Linked DNA regions of Homo sapiens: region 2 is linked to region 1. Evidence: promoter capture Hi-C in human tissues and cell types (Jung and others, 2019). All regions are on one chromosome and are shown on one strand. Each heading gives the region's core, a stretch centred on a gene start or on the middle of the fragment in contact. The rest is flanking DNA. Distances are from core to core; before and after follow the strand shown. Region 1 holds the start of EFCAB6 (EF-hand calcium binding domain 6). Region 2 overlaps EFCAB6-AS1 (EFCAB6 antisense RNA 1).

Region 1 (7,783 bases), core at 2,496-4,995:
AAGGCTGAGGCAGGCAGATCACTTGAGATCAGGAGTTCAAGACCAGCCTGGCCAACATGGTGAAACCCTATCTCTACTAAAAATACAAAAATTAGCTGGGCTTGGTGGTGTGTGCCCGTAATCCCAGCTACTTGGGAGGCTGAGGCAGCAGCATCGCTTGAACCCAGGAGGTGGAGGGTGCAGTGAGCTGAGATCGCATCACTACACTCCAGCCTGGGCAACACAGCGAGACTCTGTCACAAACAAACAAACAAAACACCAAAAACCATTAAAAAAATGGAATTATCTTTATTTTTTTTTTCCTAATGTCTTCTTATGATAGGATTAGGTGATGCATTCCAGATTAGAATACTACAGCAGTTGCCCTTTTCAACGGAGGTTGTCCTTCACATTACATCTGAAGCCACACAATGTCCATGCTCCTTGTTGGTAGTGTTAATTTTTATTATGGTATCCAAGCATTGTCCATTTTTCTTTTGTATTATGACTACTTTTTCTCCTGTAAGTAATAAGTGATCTGTGGGACTATCCTTTAAAACAATGCAAATATCCTGCTCCCCATCCAAAGAACCCCGAGATGAAGCACCCGTGAATGATCCTTGCCTGAATCAATCTTCACTCAGTGGTTGCAACATGATGGCTTTTCAGCTCTAGTCCTCCTGCATGACCATTTGTCCCTAGGCCTGCTACTGCAAGCACGTGCCCTCCCTTGTCCTGCATTTATTCTATCTGTCCATCGCTCCTGGGCCTGGACTCATGACTCCTATTTCTTTTACTGTCCTTCATTATTCTGGCCAGCAGGAGCCCCATTCAAGCTGGCTTCTGGGCTTTGTGACCATAGCGATCCTGGGGGGAGAATGAGGTTGAGGTTGTAGGATGGTCCCAGTGGCCCTGCATGCTGTTTTAAAGATTTTTATTTTTAGCATAAGAAGGCTTTTAAGGCAAGGTAGTGCAGGGGAACTTGGAGAGAATGGATGAGATTGCTACCATGTACGTATTCTGGTGTTAGAATCGACAAGACTTGCTGAAGCACTAGATATGGGGTATGAGGTAGTGATCATTGAGGGTAACAACAAGGCTTCCTAGTTTGAGCATTGCTTTGGAATAGGTGAGTGCGGGCAGGCACAGTAGCTCACACCTGTAATCCCAGCACTTTGGGAGGCCGAGGCAGGCGGATCACGAGGTCAGGAGTTCAAGACGAGCCTGGCCAACATGGTGAAACCCTGTCTCTACTAAAAATACAAAAATCAGCTGGGCATGGTGGCTCACGCCTGTAATCCCAGCTACTCGGGAGGCTGAGGCAGAGAATTGCTGAAACCTGGGAGGTGGAGGTTGCACTGAGTCGAGATCGCACCATTGCACTCCAGTCTAGGCGACAGAGCAAGACTCCGTCTCGAAAAAAAAAAAAAAGTAATAGGTGAGTGAGGGAGGTGAGTGGATCAAGGGCAATATGGATGGCTTAAGTCTGAGTGATCTCCAGTACATTCCAGTAGAGGGGTCAAGGCTGGTGAGAAGCATAACAGCAGGACCTACGACAGGGTCAGAGGGGCCCTAACATCCAAAGGCCACACAGAGGAGGGAAGTCACCAGTGGGGCCCAAGAATTGAGTAGTTGGTGTGGTATTAGAGAAGCCTGAAGTATTTCAGGCAGAAAGGAGTGATCAACTGGGCTGAATGCTACTGAGAGGTCAAGTAATGTACGGCCAAGTAGAGAAGAAGTATTTGTGAGAATGCCAGTTACCAGGCAATGAGAGTCACGCTTCTGTGAAATTTGGTAACTGAAAGACAGCATGTATAGACAGCTCTACTGAGAAGCAGGTTAAAGAGGAGCAGAGAAATGGGGTGGAAACCAGAAGATCATCTATTTTTTTTTTAAAGATGTGAGATACTAGAGCATGTTCCAAGAAGGAGGGAAAGAGAGAAAGAGAAAGAATGAGACTCTTGGCTATCATGAGAGAGGGAATAACTGAAGCCCTTTTGATCTCAGGACCAAACTTTTTGGCCTCAGGATCCATTCACACTCTTAAAAAGTATTGAGGATCCCAAAAAACTTTTATTTATGTTTATATCTATCAATATTTACCATGTTAGAAAATACAATTGATAAAAAATTTATTAACTCATTAAAAATAATAAACCCATTAGATGTTAACGTTCTCTAATGAAAAATTACACTTTCCAAAAAAGTGAAAAGAGGGGCAGTTTTCTATTTTTGCAGATCTCTTTAACATCTGGCTTAGTACAAGACCGCTGGATCTCTTACCTTCTTTTGCATTCAATTTGTTGCAATATCACACATCATGTAGCTTCTGGAAAATCCCCCCATATACTTATGAGAGAAAAACAATGAAAAAGCAAGTAAAGTCTTAAGTGTTATGAAAGTATTTTTTGGCCCCATGGACAGTCTGAAAGGGTCTCAGGATCCCCAGGGATTCCCAGACCACACTTAGAGCACTGCCTATAATAAAGAAGGCAAATGGGGAGGGATCCAGGACACAGTTAGAGGGACTGGCCTCTGTAAGAGACCCTCTTTTGGGGCAAGAGGAAAAGAGGCGATGAATGCCAAAGTGATTGTGAAGGAGTGCATTCCATTCTTATGCATTACATTTTCTCAATGGGATAAGACCCATGGTCATTGAGTCCGGTGAGGAAGTAGTGAGTGCGGGAGGTCTGAGACAAGCCATGGGAAAGAATTCTCTTGGTGAACAGGAAAACTAGCTGCCCAGTGAAGTAGTCAGAGTGCCCAGCAGGGACCGCATAGTATCCATCTTTGCAGCACACACCAGGGCACCTAATTGACCTGCCGCAGCCATGTGTGCAAGGAATTCCAAGCTGCACACGTCTGCCTGGCTGCTTCTCTCCCACAGTGAGCAGTGTGGCAGGGTGCCTAAGAGCAAGCTCCATAGGTTCTCATTCTGCTCCTACCCCTGACTGGCAGTGTGTCCTTGAACAAAATGCTCTGTGTGCCTCAGTTACCTATCTGTAAAATGGGAGTAACCACAGCACCCACCTCACAGGGTTGTTGTGAAGACAAATGAAGATGACAATTACATGTAAAGTACATACCTAGGATGGGTGAGTGCCTGGCAAGGGAAGTGCTCCATAGGGTCAGCGACAACAATTACATTCACTCACGTGATTTATGGCGCTTCCACTCGGCCCTCTGTCTTAGTAATAATTCACTCATTTAGCGAATATCAATGGAATGGATGCTTACTGTGGGTATGGGCGGAGGCTGAGGTTACAGCCTGGGCAAAGCAGGCCAGCTCCCGTCCTCACCGGCTGTCTCCTCGAGCAGACAAGCGGACCCAGTGAGACCCGCTACGTGGTGGCACAATGCGAGTCCCCATGACTGCTCACCCTAACGAAGGCGCAGGATGCGGTAGGGGCTTTGCGGACCTCACTGCAGCCAATCCTGACCACAGGCCCCAGTGGGCACGCTTAGCCTTTTACAGATGCAGAGTCTGCTTCTCAGAGCAGGGGGCTGACTTCCCCCGGCTACACGGCCCTATGCAGTTCGGTGGGACCGGGCCGACCGCCCAGCTCGCGCTAAAGCCCACGTAACAGAAACCCGCTCCCATGACACGGGTCGCCAGGGTTCCCGCTCCCCAGAGAACGGGACTTCCGGCGGAAATTTCTTCCGGGAGCGGAGGCGCGGGACTGACCTGGCCCCGCCCCCTCCTCGTTTATCTCCAATTGACCAATCACAGCTCAGCTTCTTGCCAGGCGCGTAGGCTCATTCTCCAGTCAGCGACTGCCGTCGTCTCTCGGGCAACAGCGTCCTAGAGACGCCGAATGGGCAGCCCCTCTGAGACCCCGCGGCTTGGGGTCCGCGCACGCGGGTGCCGGCCCAGCTAGGCGGAGAATCGAGGAGGGGTTCCCGGTAAGGCTGTATTCGGGGTGGCCACGCGCGTGCGACAGGCCGAGGAGGGGCCGGGCGGGCGGGCAGCTCCGTGGGTCTCACTGCCCTGAGAAGGCCGGCGCTGCTGCCCACCCCCAGGGACGAAGGGGTGGTGATTCGTTTATTCAGGTGTTCATGGCGCGTCTGCTTGTGCCAGGCATGTTGTAGGCCCTGGGGCCCTGTGGGGAACAGTAGGGCCCCTGTTCCCGTAGCTTACCTGATATGTGGAGAAGAACGATAAACAACGCTGACGGTGGTGACGTCTTCTTCCCTGCCTCTCTGTGAGAATCAGCTGGGAAATGTGTGTGGAAACGCCCTAAATCTCTCCAGTTTACAACATGTCTCATGCCCCTGATTTCATTTGTGCCCACAGCAGTCTTGTGAATGTCATGATTGACTCCCTCCTGTAGACAGACGAGGACTTGAAACCTGTGGGGTGAAGGGGCTTTTCCAAAGTCACACAACTATCTTAGGAAGTTTCTGAGCCAGAATTCAAACTCATTTCTGTATCACGGCAAAATCTCTGCTCTTTTACACTCTTCTCCCACAGCCTGCACATAATTACCCCTGCCTCCCTCAGAAATTTTGTTTGGAAGCACTTTGTGAGGTATACATCTGTATAGGGCTTACTTGAAGGTTGTCCAAATCACCCCTCTCTCTACTCCCTTCCTTTCTCTCCAAATCTTTGCCTTTCAGGATGTCTTGCCCCTGTTAAGAGGACTCTTCTTTTCTTTTCTTTTTTCTTTTCTTTTCTTTTCTCCCTCCCCTCCCCTCCCTTCCCTTCCCCTTTCTTCCCTTCCTCCCCTCCTCTCTCCTCCCCTCCCCTTCCCCTCCGCTCCCCTCCCCTTCCCTCCCCTCGCCTCTCCTTTTCTTTCCTGATGGAGTCTTCCTCTGTCACCCAGGCTGGAGTGCAGCGATCCCAGCTCACTGCAACCTCCACCTCCCGGGTTCAAGCGATTCTCGTGCCTCGGTGTCCCAAGTAGCTGGGATTACAGGCGCCTGCCACCACGCCCAGCTAATTTTTGTATTTTTAGTACAGACGGGATTTCACCATGTTGGCCAGGTTGGTTTCAAACTCCTGACCTCAAGTGATCCATCCGCCCGCCTTGGCCTAATTTAATATGTGTTCCTAAATGGGTGGCCTTAACAGAAATGCTGTAAATCAATTCTACTTTCATACACTACAGTTCATGTCTTTTATCCATTGCCTTCAATTCAGCAAACGTTTACTTGGCTAAGTTCTGGGGATATGAAAGTGAGTCAGAAATGGCCCCTTTGATTATATGTGAAGATATTTGCCTCCTATCCAGTCTTATTGCAAGATCCTTTGAGGATGAGGATTTTATTTTAGTTATCTGTGCTTTCCCTTTTTCCTCTATGCTTATTTTAATGCTTGGTTCATGATAGGTGATCATAGATATTTATCAAGAAGTGCTTACCTGAGACTGTAAATTTCGCTCTCCAGGGAAAAACTGCCCTGTTCCAGCTATCTACCTCTTCCCCTTGTACAGAGATCTCTATAGCACCCATGCTCTGATCTCTGCAGCTGACTGGCACCTGGAGACAGAACCAGCTCCATGAGGATGTTTAGTAGCCTGGTGCCTGCCCAGATCAGGAATCTGGTGAGAGGCCACTGGTTGTTAACAAGGCAGTTGTTAACAACTGAGACAGGTTTGAGAAAACTGTGAATAGAGATAACATGAATATGATACCCTTTCAGTATTAAAAGCTTCATTTTCTACTTTTGGTTTTGATCTTTCACTGCTATTTTGTTTACTTTGTTTCAGGTACCATTTGTTACTTTTTCTTTCCATCTATTTGTCCACAGTTTTACTACTTCTATTTCTACTACAGCAACTACTAATACTACTACTGGCTAATACTAATTGAACACTTACTGTGTGCCAAGCACAGTTTGGTCCCTCATACTTTTTAAATTTAGTCCTCACAAGTTGGCTATGGAAAAGTACAAGTTGGGTGTGGTGGCTTATGCCTGTAATCCTACCACTTTGGGAGGCTGAGGCAGGAGGATCGCTTGAGGCCAGGAGTTCGAGACCAGCCCAGGCAACAAAGTCAGACCCCCCCCATATCTATGGTGGCATGTGCCTGTACTTCCAGCTACTCAGGAGGCCGAGATGGGAGGATCACTTGAACCCAAGAGTTTTAGGTTGCAGTGAGCCATGATAATGCCACTGTACTCCAGCCTGGGCGACAGAATGAGACCCTGTCTCAAAAAACAAAACAGGCTGTGCGCGGTGGCTCATGCCTGTAATCCCAGCACTTTGGGAGGCCGAGGCGGTTGGATCACCTGAGGTCAGGAGTTCGAGACCAGTCTGGCCAACGTGGTGAGACCCTATCTCTACTAATACAAAAAATTAGCCAGGCATGGTGGCAGGCACCTGTAATCCCAGCTACTCCAGAAGCTGAGGCAGGAGAATCTCTTGAACCTGGGAGGTGGAGGTTGCAGTGAGCCGAGGTCACACCATTGCACTCCAGCCTAGGCAACAAGAGTAAAACTCCATCTCAAAACAGACAAAACCAAAACCAAACAAAAAAACAAAACAAAAGGCAACAGGGACACAGAGAGGTTAAGGGACTTAACAAAGCTGATAAATGGTAGTGAGTATGGCTCCAACTCCAGGACTGCCTGATAATAACCTGTGTTCTTGATGAGTATGCTATCACTCTCAAACACTTATATACTCTACAAGTCCTGCCAAGGCTTTGAGATGACTTGTAAGAATAACTACAATGTGATAAAATAGAAACATGTAAATCAGAATCATTAAAAATATAGACAGAATAGGAAGGTATCAGAAAGAAGGAATACTCAGATCATCTATAACGGTTAATAAAGTTGGGCTGGAAATTTAGCTGGGAGCTTCTTGTCAACTCATGGAAAAATAAAAGTAAAAAAATAGAAGGTAATAAAATTTATTTTTTTTTCCAGGGAAATAAGGCCTTTTGATTCATCTGGAAAAATAGGTCTAACCTGTTTCTAAAATAAATTTCTCACAGGGCTCATCGCAGAGGATTGGAAGGGCCTAGATTACTGCCCAATGACAAAAGTGTGGGCTTAATGTCCTCACTCTTCAGGGAGAGAATGTGGACTTTAGCATTTGAACTGAATATTTGAGATTGAAGATTTCTGAATAGTAAGTTTTCGATAACACCTTCTGAATGTAGTTTTTCCCCTGGGACGTTGTAAATGGTGTTATCCTGCATCCTGGGTTGGTTTCAGTCATTTGTTTGCTCATTTACTTAGCAACTATTCATTGAGCATCTGCCATATGCCAACCCCTGCCTAAGCATTGGGGATCCCCAGGCAGTGGTCATCTCACTGCCTTGGCACTCCTGGTGTTTCCATCCTGCCAGTTCTTCCTGCTGGGTTTTTTTCTGGACTCACTTTTTGTTTTTTCTCTGTTATTTTATTCTGATATTCTGAGGTGACACCTATAACCATATAGCTGTTTTTTGTTTTTGTTTTTGTTTTTGTTTTTGCCCAATGCTCTGTCTGATTTATCTTTCTGTATATCCTCGGGACCTAAAAATAACAGCTACCAAATAGCTAAAGTTCACTGTGTGCCAGGCACTTCACGAATATCACCTGTGATCCATCTACACCTTTGGAGCAGTGGCATTTACCATTTTGGGGTCACCTGCCTTTTGAGAAGTGCTCTAGAAAAATCATCTCACACACAGTTTTGCATGTCAGTAAGTCTGTAGGGCTATAAAAGCACACACATGGACCGCGATTCCATGTTAAGAATACTTGCTTAAAGGAGAGATATTCCAGTGGTCCCTCAGTATCTGTGGGAGATTCGTTTCAGCACCCACTCGAAGATACCTAGATTCATGGATGTTCAATTCCCTTATATAAAAT
Region 2 (7,783 bases), core at 3,086-5,585, 290 kb after region 1:
ACTTTCCCAAGATGTGTTACGCATTGTTGCCTACCGTTCACCTTTGTGATATTCAAACACATTGGGGCTAAATCATGTTCAAATGTCTTGTTTTCAATCTAATAGCACCTAAATGAAGTAATCACAGTGTAGTGTTCTAATTACTAGATATAATTACAACCTTGTGAATTTTTTTTAACACTGTTCATTATAATAACTTACTAGAAAACACAGACTGAAATCTCTTTTTTTCCTCAAACTATTTTCAAATTGGCCCATATCTGCCCGGCCATCTCGTTGCATTCCCTGGGAGGTGGTGTGGCCTGAAGTGTGTTGGGGTCAAAGCCCAAGTCACTTTACCTCCCCGAGTCTCCACTTCCTAATCTGTGAAGTGGGGATAGAGACCTGCCTTCTTTCCGGGTTGCCAGTGGGGAGGTGTAAATGAGATGGCTGATGTAATACACGTTTTTAAACAGCCCACACAATGGTCAGGGGGCGGGTGCGCATCTTTGTGACGAGTTCTGGCAGGCTCCCTCCTCGATTCAGAGCCAGCGGAGCAGGTTGGGAGGTGAAGCCGGAGCAGGGCTGGGCGAGGCGGGGGCGAGGCGAGGAGGAGCCCACCCCAACCCTCGTGTTCAAAAGCTCCCTCCTCACCCCTTCTTGTCTTGTGTCTAGAAAGAAGCCGGCGCGGAGACGCCATCTTTTTACTCTGCTCTGCTGCGTATTCAGCCCAAAATTGTGCACTGCTGGAGGCCAATGCGGCGCACGTTCAAAAGCTATGATGAGGCTGGAACAGGGCTGCTAAGCGTCGCAGATTTCAGGACGGTGAGCACAGCTCTGCGCCCAGTGCCTCTGCAGGGAGCAGCTGCCAAATGCCAGCGGCCAGAAACTTCCCACGGGGAGCCCTCTACCTGCTGCCGAAGGCCCGGTGTGACCTGGCTGCTTCAGATCTCACTTCCCTGGGACCCCCAAGTTATCCAGTCCTGGGTCCACTCGCCTCACCTTCAGACCCCGGGTTCTCCTTCCCAAAGGTTGCTGGAGCCCTGCGTGGATGCCCCATACCTGCATCGCCAGCTCCTCAGGGTCAGTGCCTGAGCCCAGGTTCCTTAAGGCACTGCCATCACTGCTGCTGCTGCTCCGAGCCCTCTCCCCACACCTGGGCTCTCCTGCAGGCTCTGAAGAGCATCTCTGACCTATGTTGGACCTTCCAAGGGGCCTGCAAAGTGAGCCCTGCCCCTGCAGTACACAGCGGGGCTCCACCATTGGGCATCTGCCCTGATGTCCCTGGGTGCCCTCCATGTCCCACCCCCAGAGCCTAACAAACACCCCGCAGTGGTTTTCCAATCCACATTCACGTTCCTCTTTCCTTCGGGGTTAAGTATAAATCTCAGTCAGGGATTCTCCCTATCCCTCATGCAAAGAAAGGAAGGAAGTAGGGCAGGTTCTGTTATTCCCTTCCGGCAACTTCCCAGGAATTCGGGCGTGGTGCTGGGAAGGTGGCAAAAGAAACCTTGCCCTCCACAGAGTCACAGATCAGATGGCGTAATTGAGGGGCCGTCTCAGACACCAGGCTCAGCTTCCTTTTCTGCCTTCATCCCATGGGGCCCAATGGCCAGGCCTGCTGACCTCAGCCCCATAGGACCTCTGGGCCATCTAGCCCTGCTTTCCAGTCTCCTCCTAGAAACAAGTTATAACGCAAATGTGGATAGGAAATGTATGGCCTCATCTTTATATACTATGAGGGTCTGTCAGGATTTGTTTCAGCTTCACATAATGGGGCGGGGAAAATAGCAGCTTAAGGTGAAAGTTTATTTCACTCCCACATAAAAGAAGTCCAGAGGTAGGAAGGTCAGAGCTGGTGTGGTGGCTGGACAATCATCAGGGACCACATTTTTGCTCTGCTGTTCTCAACTCCTGGCTTCCTTCCTCTAGGCCACCTCATGATCCAAGGTGGCTGCTGGAGCCCCAGCATCACAGCCATATTCCAGGCAGCAGGTGGAAAAACAGGAGAGAAAAGGGCATGCCCCTCTCCTTTAAAGGAGGCTTCCTGGATGTTCTACATAACATTCTTACTTAGCTTCTCAGGCCAGAACATACCTAGCTGCAAGAGAGGCTGAGACATGTTCCCGGTTAGCTGGATACAGAGGAGCTGGGAGAGAGTCAGGTTCTATAACTGAAGAGGAAGGGGCAGTCAGTATTGGGTTTACCACCAGCAGGCTCTGCTCCAGGCTCTGTTACGGTCTTATCACAGCAACTCTCTGCACTCAGCACCCACTGGCCCTGCCCTCCCCTGCCTGGGCGCACCCTGAGGCTCTGCCCCAAGTTAGGGCTGCATGGCCAGGTCTCCCCTTGAGCCCCCACCTCTCTGATCATCAGCCTTGTCTGAATACGTTGACCAGCCTTCAGCCCCTCAGGGAGGCAAAGGTGATCAACCTCCTGTCTGCTCCAGTTTCACACCCAGATGCACACAGGGCTGCCCTTGGAGGCTGCTTCCTGTTTGGGCAGAGGTTGAGAGGGCATAGAGAGAGCGCACAGATGGGAGGCTGACATCGGAAGTGGGGTTGGGGATCAGGTGGATGTGTCCCCCAGCCCCTTCCTGGCAGCCTGCCTCCTTAACCTAGGGCACCAAACAAGCCTCAGAGGCCCCTTTTCTCTGTCTTCCAGGTCCTGAGACAGTACAGCATCAACCTCTCTGAGGAAGAGTTCTTCCATATTCTGGAGTATTACGATAAGACGCTGTCTTCAAAAATCTCCTACAACGACTTCCTCCGGGCATTCCTCCAGTAGACACCCCTGCTGTGTGCCCAGCGGGACGACAGCCACAGGGCCTGTTTCAAGGCTAATAAAATCCTATAATTTGGGGGTTTCATGAATTTTCAAAAAAAACAAAACTCAAGCCCAAGCCCAGCCCGCCTGTCTCTGGGTCGGGGGTAGGCACAGCTGCCCTGGGTTCTGGCATAGGATGCTTGCTCTCCAGGTGCCAGGTGCTACCACTATGTCTTGGGCACCCTCACTTGTTAGTCTGAACAAATAATCTTTGCAAGAATGATTCTTGACACTATAAAATAATTACTAATGCTAACTTTTTTTTTTACACGGAGTTTGGCTCTTTTGCCCAGGCTGGAGTGAAGTGGCGCTATCGGCTCACTGCAACCTCCGCCCCCTGGGTTCAAGCAATTCTCCTGCCTCAGCCTCCCGAGTAGCCGGGATTACAGGCACCCACCACACCCGGCTAATTTTTGTATTTTTAATAGAGACAGGGTTTCGCCATGTTGGCCAGGCTGGTCTCGAACTCCTGACCTCAGGTGACCCACCCACCTCAGCCTTCCAAAGTGCTGGGATTGCAGGCATGAGCCTCTGCGCTAACATTCTTAAAAGCTTGGACTTTCCGGAGGTTTTGTTCATGGCCCCTGCCAGGTGTCTCCTCCAGTCCAGAGCAGTTGGGGCCCTGCACCCCATTACCCAAGGACTGCTGCCTCCTTTGACCCCCCAGCTTCCTGGGTCCTGGATCAGAGGACATCTGAGCCCCCTGCTGCAGTCAGGGTGGCCATGTCTCTGCTCCTAGAGGCACAGGCACTGACCGCCCCATCGCTGTCTTGCTCAGGGATGCCAGCCAGCCTGACTCCATGAAGAGCAACTCACGCCTGAGTGAGACCCCCTGGAGCTTTGGGCCTCCCTCCGCCTTCCTGAGCCCAAGCCTAGTGGCCACTGGCCGTAACCCCCACCAGGGACAGTTCTGAGAGGGCCCTTCCTTGGAACTGACAGGTTTGACAAGAGAAGTTTGAAAATCGTCACTCCGCTTTCATGGACTGTGACTCAGCTGAGAGACTCAGGCAGCGTTTGCCACCTTCTGGAAGGTTCTCCAAGGAACTGGGGAGCAGCAGGCAGGATATGGGGTGTGGGGGGAGCACCTCCCCTCCACCTGGGCCCCAGGCCTTGCCCACCAAAACGCCCTTCCCTGCCCCTGCACAGGGTCCAAATGAGGCCACACCCTGAGGTGAGCAGATCTCTCCCTGAGTGGCAGAGCCGCGCATTGGATGGGTGTGATTGGGAGGACAGGCTCCCGCCCAGCCCGCGCAGGCCTTCTATTTCCTGGAAAATGTTTCCTGGGGTCACCTTTGTTTCCATCTGTCCTTAGTTTCCTCCTCATTTCAGGCTGGACCGCTGCAGGGGGAACGGGGTGCTCAGGCAGCCCCAAGTTCAGGGAAGGGGAAGGGGACCCTGAGTAGGCACATCAACAGGGCCATGCAGTGATTACGGGACAGAGACGCCCTGGACCCCAGCTGCTCCTCCATGTGACTTTGTACCAGGTCCCATCCCTTCAGCGTCCTCATCTGTAGAAATGGTGGGACCACACTTGTGTCACCTTTGTTGTGGGACCTGGGCCTGTGGGCAGCAGATGTTCCCATGAGAGAGGCTTCAGCCCAGAATAAGGAAGGCCTGTGAGGGCCAGGGGCACCAGCCTGAGACTCCGGCCAGAGGCAGGGCAGTGTCAGCTCCCAGTGAACACAGGCATGCCAGACTCAGGCTGAGGACAGGCCAGTGCCAGCAGTCAGTGAGCACAGGTGTGCGGGACTCAGGCCGGGACAGGGCAGTATCAGCAGCCAGTGAGCACAGGTGTGCGGGACTCAGGCTGGGACAGGGCAGTATCAGCACCCAGTGAGCACAGGTGTGCAGGACTCAGGATGGTACAGGACAGTATCAGCGCCCAGTGAGCACAGGTGTGTGGGGCTCAGGCTGGGACAGGGCAGTATCAGCGCCCAGTGAGCACAGGTGTGCGGGGCTCAGGCTGGGACAGGGCAGTGCCAGCACCCAGTAAGCACAGGTGTGTGGGACTCAAACCCAGCGCTTCACACACATCATCATTTAGACTCCTGTGAGCATCCCCATTTGACAGATGAGGAAACTGAGGTACCGGAAGTTTTCCAGAGTCTCACAGCTTGCAGGATTTGGCCCAGACAGTGAGTAACAGCCCAAGCCAGTGTCAGAGGCCCTGAAGGTGGGCGGGCAGGCTCCCCTGCAGGCAGCACCAGGACTCACTCAGCCCTGTGCCCACATCCCTGCCTCCAAGCCCTGGCTCCTGCTGGCTCCTCCTTCTGGGACTACTTCTGTTCTCATCTGCACAGCCCGCGTACTCTTCCTCTGAGGCCCAGCTCCAATCCTCCTGTAACCCCTGGGCAGAGGCTGAGCTCCCCGTTCGATGCTGTCACCGCTTGGCAGAGAGAGTCACTCCCTTCTGCACCCACTGCTGGGCCCAGACTCCACCCATAGGGTGAGAACACTGACCTGCGCCCCCAGCCTGGCACACAGCAGGTGCTTTAATGCTGGCAGGGCACAGCCTCTGGGTCCCTTTCCCAGAAGGAAAGCTGACCAGGTTCTGCAGGGAGTGCTGGCAAGTTGGGGAGCAACTCTGGTGTTGGGGGCTTCTCTGTGGATGGAGTCTGTGAGTGCTGGACTCCCCATAGCACTAGGAGGTGGCTGTGGGGTCAGACCCACATTCTCTTGGCCACATCTCCCAGCTTCTGGCAAAACAAGTTCTGGATCTTCCCATGCATGTCCCACCAGCACTGCTGGCACCACACTCTGACATAACAGTTTTAAAATGCAGTCTCCCCTGTAAAAACAAATCAGGTGACACTGAGCTTTCAATGAGCTCTGGAAAGAAGGCTTGGCATCTGCCGGCTGTTATTCCAACCCCAGAAATTGAAAGTGTGTCCCCAAATTTGCAAAGTAACCTATTAAAATCCCCACCATGATGGAGGGTTGCATGCTTAGTGGTGAGGGGCAGATGGATGCCCTGCCCATGTGCCCTGCCTCAGCATTGGAGGCCCGACCTGGGTGCCCAGATCCCATCCTGTGTGCTGGACTTCAGCTTCCCCATGCTTGTTCTTACATATCTTTGCACTTGGCACCAGCAGTTTCTTCCACCTACTCCTCAGGAAATGCCGGGTATTCCTTCGAAACTCTCAAAGCCACCTCTTCCACGAAGCTTTCCTGACTTCCTGAGGCTGAGTCAGTACAATTAGTCTGAACCTGTTCAGCAGCCTTGAGGGTCCATCATTTTTAAGGGTTGAAGAAGGAGGAGGAGAAAGAGGAAGGAAGAAAAGAACAAGAAATGCAACCGACTGCATGTATGTGGACCTCAAAGCCTAAAATATTTACTATCTGATCCTCCACAGAGCAAGTTTGCTGGGCCCTGCTATACAAATGTCTGGCTTTCAACAAAAAATTTTGAGGTATACCAAGGGCAATTATAAAAACAGTTTGAGAAGACAAAGCAATCACAAGAATCAGACTCAGACATGACAGATTTTGGAACCATTAGAAAAATGTTTAAATAACTGGTTTATGTGTTAGAGCGCTAATGGAAAAGAAAGACAACACACGACCAGCCAATTTCAGCAGAGAGATGAAAACTGCAAGAATCAGAAAGGCTAGAAATAAAAAAAACACAGTAATAAAGATGAAGATTGCCTTTGACAGGCTCGCTCATCAGTAGATTCTACATAACCAAGGAAAGAATGAGTGAGCTTGAAGATAGGTCAATAGCATGTATCTAAACCTAAATGCAGAGAGAAAAAGAGTGGGGAAAAATCGCAGAATATATAAGAGCTGTGGGACAGTATAAGATGGTCTAATATGGGGCCGGGCACAGTGGCTCATGCCTGTAATCCCAGCACTTTGGGAGGCCGAGGTGGGCAGATCATGAGGTCAGGAGTTCAAGACCAACATGGTGAAACCTCGTCTCTACTAAAAATACAAAAATCAGTGGGGTATGGTGGTGTGTGCCTGTAATCCCAGCTACTCAGGTGACTGAGGCAGGAGAATTGCTTGAACCCGGGAGGCAGAGGTTACAGTGAGCCGAGATCGCACCACTGCACTCCAGCCTGGGTGACAGAGCGGTGAGACTCTGTGTCAAAAAAAAAAAAAAAAAAAGTCTAACATGCACATAATTCAGGAGGAAAAGAAAGAGAACATGGTGCAGAAGAAATATTTGAATAAATAATGGCTGAGGATTTTCCAAAATTAGTTACAAACACTAAACAACAGAGAACAGAAGCATATAGAACCTGGCAGGATACACACACACACACACACACACACACACACACACACACACACACACACACGCACCTCTAGGAATATCATATTCGAATTGCTGCAAAAAAAAAGAAGGCAGCTAGAGAAAAAAGATGTACATGACCTACAGAGGAACAAGGATAAGAATTATAGCATACTTCTCAGAAACCATGCTAACCAGCAGACAATGGCATAACATTTTCAGAGTGCTGAAAGAAAATCATCAAGCTCAAATTTTGTAACCAGCAAAATACCTTTCAAAAATAAAGAGATACATTGGATTTTCTAGGCACACAAAAACTGAAGGAACTCACTGATGGCATACTTACCATAAAATAAATTTTAGGCTGGGTGCGGTGGCTCACACCTGTAATCCCAGCACTTTGGGAGGCCAAGGCGGGTGGATCACTTGAGGTCAGGAGTTTGAGATGAGCCTGGCCAACATGGTGAAATCCCGTCCCTACTAAAAATACAAAAATTAGCCAGGCATGATGGTGGGCACCTGTACTCCCAGCTACTTGGGAGACTGAGGCAGGAGAATTGCTTGAACCCAGGAGGTGGAGGTTGCAGTGAACCGAGATCACACCACTGCACTCCAGTCTGGGTGACAGAGCATGACTCTGTCTCAAAAAATAAATAAATAAATAAATAAATAAATAAAGGAAGTTCTACAGGCAGAAGGAATATGATTGAGTCAGAAATTTGGATCTATCAAAGAAATGAA

What was found. Contacts are between HindIII fragments. The study calls those that stand out against the background at their distance.
Region 2: a fragment that was not itself captured here is called in contact with the fragment with the promoter of EFCAB6 in region 1 in 2 of the 25 tissues and cell types used here (IMR-90 fibroblasts and dorsolateral prefrontal cortex).

What each region holds. Positions count from the first base shown.
Region 1 is chr22:43,808,267-43,816,049 of GRCh38, reverse strand. It overlaps EFCAB6 (EF-hand calcium binding domain 6), which reads left to right and starts at 3,745. Exons shown (of 32, transcript NM_022785.4): 1 at 3,745-3,882; 2 at 6,919-7,055. EFCAB6-DT (EFCAB6 divergent transcript) reads right to left here and starts at 3,628. Exons shown (of 2, transcript NR_186822.1): 1 at 3,066-3,628. RefSeq lists enhancers at 2,338-3,139, 3,381-3,650 and a silencer at 3,982-4,223. The HindIII fragment of the contact is 13,383 bases long and covers 1-7,243 here.
Region 2 is chr22:43,523,836-43,531,618 of GRCh38, reverse strand. All of the region lies in intron 2 of EFCAB6-AS1 (EFCAB6 antisense RNA 1), which reads right to left. EFCAB6 (EF-hand calcium binding domain 6) reads left to right here. Exons shown (of 32, transcript NM_022785.4): 31 at 655-804; 32 at 2,644-2,841. The coding sequence ends at 2,766. Among named protein-coding and RNA genes, the nearest start is that of EFCAB6-AS1, 11 kb to the right of the region's middle. RefSeq lists an enhancer at 3,427-3,926. The HindIII fragment of the contact is 6,308 bases long and covers 1,182-7,489 here.